Regions from separate parts of the Homo sapiens genome. Here region 2 is linked to region 1. The links are contacts of gene promoters, found by promoter capture Hi-C in human tissues and cell types (Jung and others, 2019). All regions are on one chromosome and are shown on one strand. Each heading gives the region's core, a stretch centred on a gene start or on the middle of the fragment in contact. The rest is flanking DNA. Distances are from core to core; before and after follow the strand shown. Region 1 holds the start of ASPM (assembly factor for spindle microtubules). Region 2 overlaps ASPM (assembly factor for spindle microtubules).

Evidence for each region. Contacts are between HindIII fragments. The study calls those that stand out against the background at their distance.
Region 2: a fragment that was not itself captured here is called in contact with the fragment with the promoter of ASPM in region 1 in 1 of the 25 tissues and cell types used here (thymus).

Annotation. Positions count from the first base shown.
Region 1 is chr1:197,144,739-197,148,771 of GRCh38, reverse strand. ASPM (assembly factor for spindle microtubules) reads left to right here and starts at 2,103. Exons shown (of 28, transcript NM_018136.5): 1 at 2,103-2,631. The coding sequence starts at 2,335. RefSeq lists a silencer at 2,419-2,598. The HindIII fragment of the contact is 11,107 bases long and covers 1-4,033 here.
Region 2 is chr1:197,110,402-197,114,434 of GRCh38, reverse strand. All of the region lies in intron 17 of ASPM (assembly factor for spindle microtubules), which reads left to right. Among named protein-coding and RNA genes, the nearest start is that of ASPM, 34 kb to the left of the region's middle. The HindIII fragment of the contact is 5,520 bases long and covers 1-4,033 here.

The DNA.
Region 1 (4,033 bases), core at 854-3,353:
CTTGACCTACCTGACTGTAAACCACTACTGAGTTCAGTTTTCAATTAGTGAACCTATTAAACTATTAAAGCCATTCCCAGGTACTTCGGACATTGTATTAATTAAATGGGTAAAGTGCACCCATGACAATAAATTTGGCCTTATTGTTCCTTATGATTTGTCCTCTTGGTCTAACACCATTACATTCCACCTTAGACTGTCAAAATCTTTTAACTCTTTGCTGTATAGGCTGTTTCCTCCCTCCCACAGCATATCTTGCACTCTCCTCCGTCCAAGTTTTATTTTTTGGAGCCTAACTAAGCTAATGGAGAGGTCGTGGGGGGTAGATGCTGAGGAGAACTGGAAATGACTTGTGAGGCTCTGCTCCAGGGTTTTGTTTTGTTGTTTTTTTTTTTAAGCCTCTATGAAAGAATTTTTTTTTTTTTTTTTTTTTTTTTTGACAGCGTCTTGCTCTCTTGCCCAAGCTGGAGTTCAGTGCCATGATCTCGGCTCACTGCAACCTTGCCCCCACCCCCCACCCCAGGTTCAAGCGATTCTTCTGTCTCAGCCTCCGGGGTAGGTGGGATTACAGGCATGCTCCACCACGCCTGGCTAATTTTTTTATTTTTAGTGGAGACGGCATTTCGCCATGTTGGCCAGGCTGGTCTCAAACCCCTGACCTCAAGAATCCGCCTGCCTCAGCCTCCCAAAGTGCTGGGTTACAGGCTTGAGCCACCGTGCCCAGTGGAAAAATTTCGTTTAAATATTGTTAAGGTCCAACTTCAGGTGAAATTGGACACCATTGAATATAATTTCATGTCTCATCTTCCTTATTTTGATTTCCCATTGACTTCTCTTTTTACATGTTTTGTGTAACCATACATACATCCAGACATTATTTTTATTTTTTAAGTTTTCTACTGCCTTTAGAGGCAATATAGTGTAGTGGGTAAGAGCAAGACTAGGGCCAAACTGCTGGGATTACAGGCATGTGTACCTATCTGGGTTATGCCACTTCCTACTTAGCTGTATGACCTGTATTCCTCATCTGTAAGATACAAATAATGGTACCTACGCCCTAAGAGATACCTCGTAGGTTTAAGGCAAAGGTTGAGATAAATAGGTAAAGGATTTTTAAAAAATCCCTAGCCTAGGGTCGGGCGCCGCTCAGGCCTGTAATCCCAGCACTTTGGGAGGCCGAGGCGGAGGCAGGCGGATCACTTGAGGCCAGGAGTTCCAGACCAGCCTGGCCAACATGGCGAACTCCCCTCTCTACCAAAAATACAAAAATTAGCCAGTCGTGGTGAGGCGCGCCTCTAATTCCAGCTACTTGGGAGGCTGAGGCAGGAGAATCGCTTGAACCCGGGAGGCGGAGGTTGCAGTGAACCAAGATCACGTCACTGCACTCCAGCCTGGGAGACAGAGCGAGACTCCATCTCAAAATAAATAAATAATTTAAAAAATCCCTAATATGTAAGCTATAATTATTATTAGATCCCTACAATTGAAATAAAAACTAATAAGATATTTGTGAAGGGCATTGCCAGTCAAAACAATCATTTATGAATTACTGGTAATCTCAGGTTTCATTTGTTTACCTGGTTTTGCTCCCAGCGTCCCGAGGTAATTAACAGCATGTAAATGTACTGAGTCCCTGCTATGTTGTCACTAAAATAAGCATGTTCATACAAACTAATTATCTTTACATCTCTACCATTCAGCCCTGGAAACCGCGACAGTAAAGTTAATATAATTCTGGGCGGGGTATGCATATGAGAGGAGTGGCATAAACCAATTTTTGCCTACGTAACAGTTTTATCTATGATTGTTCCTGGAAACCGCAATGATTACTACATGTATTGTGGAAATGCTGTGACTCCCTTCCCTTCAGCACAACCAAAAATATAAAGACGAATTTCAATTCTAAGCCCCGGGTTTTAGACGGTGGCCAGGATTCCGCTACCGTTCTCACCTCCTCCGCAGATAGCGATTGGCGGCCGGATGCAATCATTCAAATGAAGCGCCGCCGTCTCATTGGCCAGGGGATGCTGCTCACCGATTGGTCCCGTGACGAGGAGGGCGGTGCCCGGAGGTCCTCATTGGTGGAGGCGGCAAGTTTAAACAGAGTCAAAACGCCATACTTGTTTGGCTCCTCTTTTTAATTTGCGAGTTTATTGGGCTTGTTTTCTGTTTTCTAGGGAGTAGGTTAGTGGAAAAGAAAAAGGGCCGAATTCACTCCCACGACCTCTACAGCCGCCCCTGAGGGGAAGCGGTCAGCGTAAGTCCCGGATCCCCGCTCCGGAGCCGCCTCGTGGGAGCGGGGCAAGGAGATCCAGGAGGGGTCTCGAATCTGCCATGGCGAACCGGCGAGTGGGGCGAGGCTGCTGGGAAGTGAGCCCGACCGAGCGGAGGCCGCCCGCGGGGCTGCGGGGCCCCGCGGCCGAGGAGGAGGCGTCTTCCCCGCCGGTCCTGTCTCTCAGCCACTTCTGCAGGTCTCCTTTCCTTTGCTTCGGGGACGTTCTCCTGGGAGCCTCACGGACGCTGTCTCTGGCCCTAGACAACCCTAACGAGGAGGTGGCAGAAGTGAAGATCTCCCACTTCCCGGCCGCGGACCTGGGCTTCAGTGTGTCGCAGCGCTGTTTCGTGTTGCAGGTAGGTCTCAGGAGGAGCGTGCTCCAGGCCGGTGTTCTGCTTCTCCGCTATCTTTCCTGCCACCCTCCTCAGGAAGGTTGACGATTGGAGAAGAAATCAGAAAAGACCCTTAGAGAATAAAGTCAGTTCCCTTTCACTCAATAACTGTGGGTGGCTCTTGGAAAAGAAATCAGAAAAGACCCTTAGAGAGTGAAGTCAGTTCCTTTTCAATAACTGTGGGTGGGCCCTTGACGCATACACATGTGTGTGAGTATATATATATGTGTCAATATTATATATATATATATATATATATTCTCTAATTGAAGGCTAGGATAGACGCTAACTTGGGCGGGGACAACACATAAACGCGCGCGCACTTAGCATCTTTAGGAGCAAGTTATATAGACTTCTCTGTTAAATTGACAAGCACTTTTACTAGACTTAAGGCGTTGTGAAATAGCCTTGCCGTTCTAAATTAATAGACAATGCACTTTTTTAACACTTTTTTAAGATTGACAGGAGTACCTTGGTTGGTTAAAGCAGCTTTTTTTAAAATTTCTATCAGCCATCTTAATATGCATTTTAGTTTCCATATGTACCCTTAGAGTCGAGGTAACTGGTTTTTTTTTCCGGTGAAATAGTGAGCTTTGTTCTGGCTAAATGCCTACAATAAAAACCAAAAAAACCTATTCAGAGTTGTTTTCAATATATACGTGTAGTATGTATGCACACTTTAGTATTTTAGTCCTTTTTTTCTTTGCTGTTAAGTGTAATTTTAATGCTGCATCAAATTTAATTTTATAAATGTTGTTTCAAGAACTCCTGTAGCTTTCTTTTACTGCATTGCATTTGCAAGAGTAATGCTCCAATCCCCTTCACCAAAGACTGGAGAATTTATGTTTTTATTTTGACTGCTGTGACCTTTCCATTGAGTAGAATCACCAAAAGTATGAAAACCGTTAGCCGAGGAGGTCTGAACTAGTAGGCTAATAACCACTTCATTAGGCAGAAAAAAGAGATTCTAATCTGAGGTCCCTTAACTTGTGTGTCACCAATGGTTCATCTATCTACACTTCAGAACCTACCCACCCCGCCCCTCTGTTTCATGAATCACTGCCTGCTTTCCTTTCTTTGGAAAGACAGATTTCTTTTCTATCCACATAATACTTCAACTTACTCTTTTTTGTTATAATGTGGAACTAAATTTTGTGGTATTTTTAGAATAAACTATTTTATAGAGTAAAAATGCACCATTCTTATTTTTTAAAATTAGTTGTTTATGATGTTATATTATTTCTCCTTTAAAACAGAAACTTGTCTGTTTCTCCTGAAAAACAAAATTTGTTTTGTCATGTCAGCGTTTAAATTTGGCAGATTCTGTCTACCTGCCAGGGTGTGGGGTGTAGATGTTAAAGTCCAA
Region 2 (4,033 bases), core at 1,089-3,588, 35 kb after region 1:
TTCTGAATAAGGAGTCAATCAATGCAGTAAAACTTCATTGTTGTCTTATTTTTAAAAAATTGCCAAAGCCACCTACAATAACTACCATTCTGATCAGTCAGCAGCCACCAACATTAAGGTAAGACCCTCCACTAGCAAAAAGATTACAATTTGCTGAAGGCTCACATGGTTCTTAGCATTTTTTAGCAATTTAGTATTTTTAAATTTAGGTATGTACCTTGTAGTGTTTTAGACACAATGGTTTTGCACACTTAATAGACTGCAGTATAGTGTAAAGATAACTTCGGTATGTATTGGGAAACCAAAAAAATTGTGTGACTCACTTTATTGTAATATTTGCTTTATTGTGGTGGTCTGGAACTGAACCTACAATATCTTCGAGATATGCCTGTATATATTTCAACTATCCAAGAGTTTTTTAAAGTACTTGTAAAGATTTAAAACCCACCAGGTGTTTATGACCATTCACATGACTCCATGTCTACATTAACATTTGGAAATTGTCTTTTTAATTTTAGCCATTCTGGTGATTGTGTAGTAGTATTCAGAGTAGTTTTAATTTGATTTTTCTTCATTAATGATGTTGAACAACTTTTCCATTTTGGAAATCTTTTGTGAAGTATTATTTTGAGCATCTTTTAAAACTGTTGCCTTCTTGTGGATTTATAAAAGAGCGTTATACTATGATTGTTATTAGGCCTCTATTTGGTATGTGTGTTGTGTCTTCTCCCAGGCTATAACTTACTGTTTTATATCTTACTAATGAAATTTCTTGTTTTTCTTTTATTGTTAGTATTTTTTGTGTATTATATAAGGAGTGTTTCTTTATCTTCTTTATCTTAAGGCCTTGTAGATGTATGCCTATGTTATACTCTACAAGCATTAATGTTTTGTCTTCCTCATTTTGATCTCACCTAAAACTAATTTTTAGATGATTTGTTTTAGAGGACATTTAAAAAATATATGGCTATCCAGTTGTTTCAGCATGTTTTACTGAAATGACCATCCTTGCCCTTTTGCCATGCTACCTTCAGTATACATTATATATTCTTTTTTTGTTTCTTCTACTTCTATTTTAGATTCTGGGTATATGTGAGCAGATATGTTACATGGGTAAATTGCATGTCATTAAGCCTTAGTGTACAAATGATCCTGTCACCCAGGTATTGAGCATAGTACCTGATAATCTTCCAACCCACACTTCCCTCTGACTTGCGCTCATCAAGCAGTCCCGGTGTCTATTGTTCCCATCTTTGTGTCCATATGTATTCAGTGTTTAGCTCCCACTTATAAGTGAGAATATGTAATATTTGGTTTTCTGTTCCTGTGTTACATCACTTAGGATAATGGCCTCCAGCTAAATGCACATTACTGCAAAGGACATAATTTTTTTTATGGCTGCATGGTATTCCATGGTGCTTATGTGCTACATTTCCTTTTTTTGAAAATTACCTTTTATTTTAGGTTTAGGGGTACATTTGCAGGTTTGTTATATGAACCCCCAAAATTTGAGTCAGGTCTCAGTTAATTTAGAAAGTTTATTTTGCCAGAGTTGAGGATGTGCACCCATTACACTGCATCAGGAAGTCTTGACATGTGCCCAAGGCAGTCGGGGCACAGCTTGGTTTTATACATTTTAGGGAGACATGAGACATCAATCAATATATGTAAGAAGTACATTGGTTTAGTCTGGAAAGTCAGGATAACTTGAGACAAAGGCAGGAAGACCCAAAGCAGGGAGGGGGCTTCCAGGTCAGATAGGTGAGAGACAAACAGTTGCATTCTTTCAAATTTCTGATTAGCCTTTCCAAAGGAGGCATCAGATATGCATTTACCTCAGTGAGCACAGGGGTAGCTGAATAGAATGGGAGACAGGTTTGCCCTAAACAGTTTCCAGCTTGAGTTTTTCTTTAAGCTTAGTGATTTGGGGGGCCCAATATATTTTTCTGTCACAGTTATATAGGTAGACTTGTGTCATGGGGGTTTGTTGTACAGATTATTTTGTCACCCAAGTATTAAGCCTAGTACCCATTAGTTATTTTTCCTGATCCTTTCCCTCCTCCCACCCTTCACTCTCCAATAGGCCCCACTGTGTGTTGTTTCCCTCTGTGTGTCCATGTTTTCTCATCATTTAGCTCCCACTTATAAGTAAGAACATGCAGTGTTTGGTTTTCTGTTCCCGTGTTAGTTTGCTAAGGATAATGGCCTCCAGCTCCATCCATGTCCCTGCAAAGGACGTGATTTCATTCTTTCTTGTGGCTGCATTGTATTCCATGGTATATATGTACCGCATTTTCTTCATCCAGTCTGTCATTGATGGACATTTAGGTTGATTCCATGTCTTTGCTATTGTGAATATTGCTGCAGTGAACATCACGCATGCTTCTTTATGATTGAACAATTTATATTCCTTTGGGTAAATACCCATTAATGGGATTGCTGGGTTGAATGGTATTTCTGCTTTTAGGCCTTTGAGAAATCACCACACTGTCTTCCACAATGGTTGAGCTAATTTATACTCCCACCAACAGTGTATAAGCATTCCTTTTTCTCTACAACCTCACCAGCATCTGACTTTTTGACTTTTTAGTAATAGCCATTATGATTGATGTGAGATAGTATCTTATTGTGGCTTTGATTTGCATTTCTATAATGATCAGTGATGTTGACCTTTTTCCATATGATTGTTGGCTGCATGTATGTCTCCAGTGTGTGTGTACCACATTTTCTTTATCCAGTCCACTGTTGATGGACGTCTTGGTTGATTCCATGTCTTTGCTATTGTGAATTAGTTCTGCGATGAACATATGAATCCATGTGTCTTTTTGGTAGAATGATTTATTTTCTTTGGGTATATACCCCGTAGTGGGTTTTCTGGATCAAATGGAAGTTCTGTTTTAAGTTCTTTGAAAAATCTCCAAATTGATTTTCAAAGTAGCCGAACTAATTTACATTTCCACCAGGAGTATATAAGTGTTCTCTTTTCTCTGTAATCTTGCCAGCATCTGTTTTTTGACTTTTTAAAAACAGCCATCTTGACGGGTGAGATGGTATCTCACTGTGGTTCTGATTTGTATTTTTCTGATGTTTAGTGGTGATGGGCATTTTTTCATAGATTTCTTGGCCGCATGTGTGTCTTCCTTTGAGAGGTGTGTATGTCCTTTGCCCATTTTTTAGTGGGGTTATTTGTTTTTTGTTTTTTGAATTAAGTTCCTTATAGATACTGAATATTAGACCTTTGTTAGATACATTGTTTGCAAATATTTTCTCCCATTCTGTAGGTTGTCTGTTTATTCTGTTGATAGTTTATTTTGCTGTGCAGAATCTCTTTAGTTTAATTAGGTCCCATTTGTCAATTATGTTTTTTGTTGCAATTGCTTTTGGGGACTTTGTTATAAATTCTTTCCCAAGGCTGATATCCGGAGTAGTATTTCCTAGGTTTTCTTCTAGGGTTTTTATTGGTTTGGGTCTTACATTTAAGTCTTTAATCCATCTTGCATTAATTTTTTGTATGTGGTGAAAGGAAAGCGTCCAATTTTAATCTTCTGCACTGACCGTTTATTGAATAGCATATCCTTTCCCCATTGTTTGTTATTGTCAACTATGTCAAAGATCAGGTGGTTTTAGGTATGTGGTTTTATTTTTGGGTTCTCTACCCTTTTCTATTTGTGTAGTAGACATCAGCTATTCTTATATGTGTGATTCTGTTTCTAGTATTTCTTTCTATTCAATTGGTCCATTTGTCTATCTTTGAGCCTCGCACTGTAGCAGTAGGTGAAATCTGGATATCTAGTAGGTAATCCTCCTTCTTTGTTAGTGATTTCACACAATTTCTCCCAATCTGCAGCTTGTCTTTTTATTCTTGTAACAGGGCTTTTTGTTCAGCAGAAGTAGTTCATTTTATTGGAATCCAGTTATCACTTTTCTTCTTTTATGGATTATGCTTTTAGCGTCATATCAAAGTACTCTAAAAGTTTTATAATTTTTCATTCTAAATTTTGACCTATGATGTATTTTGTGTTAGTTCTCCTCT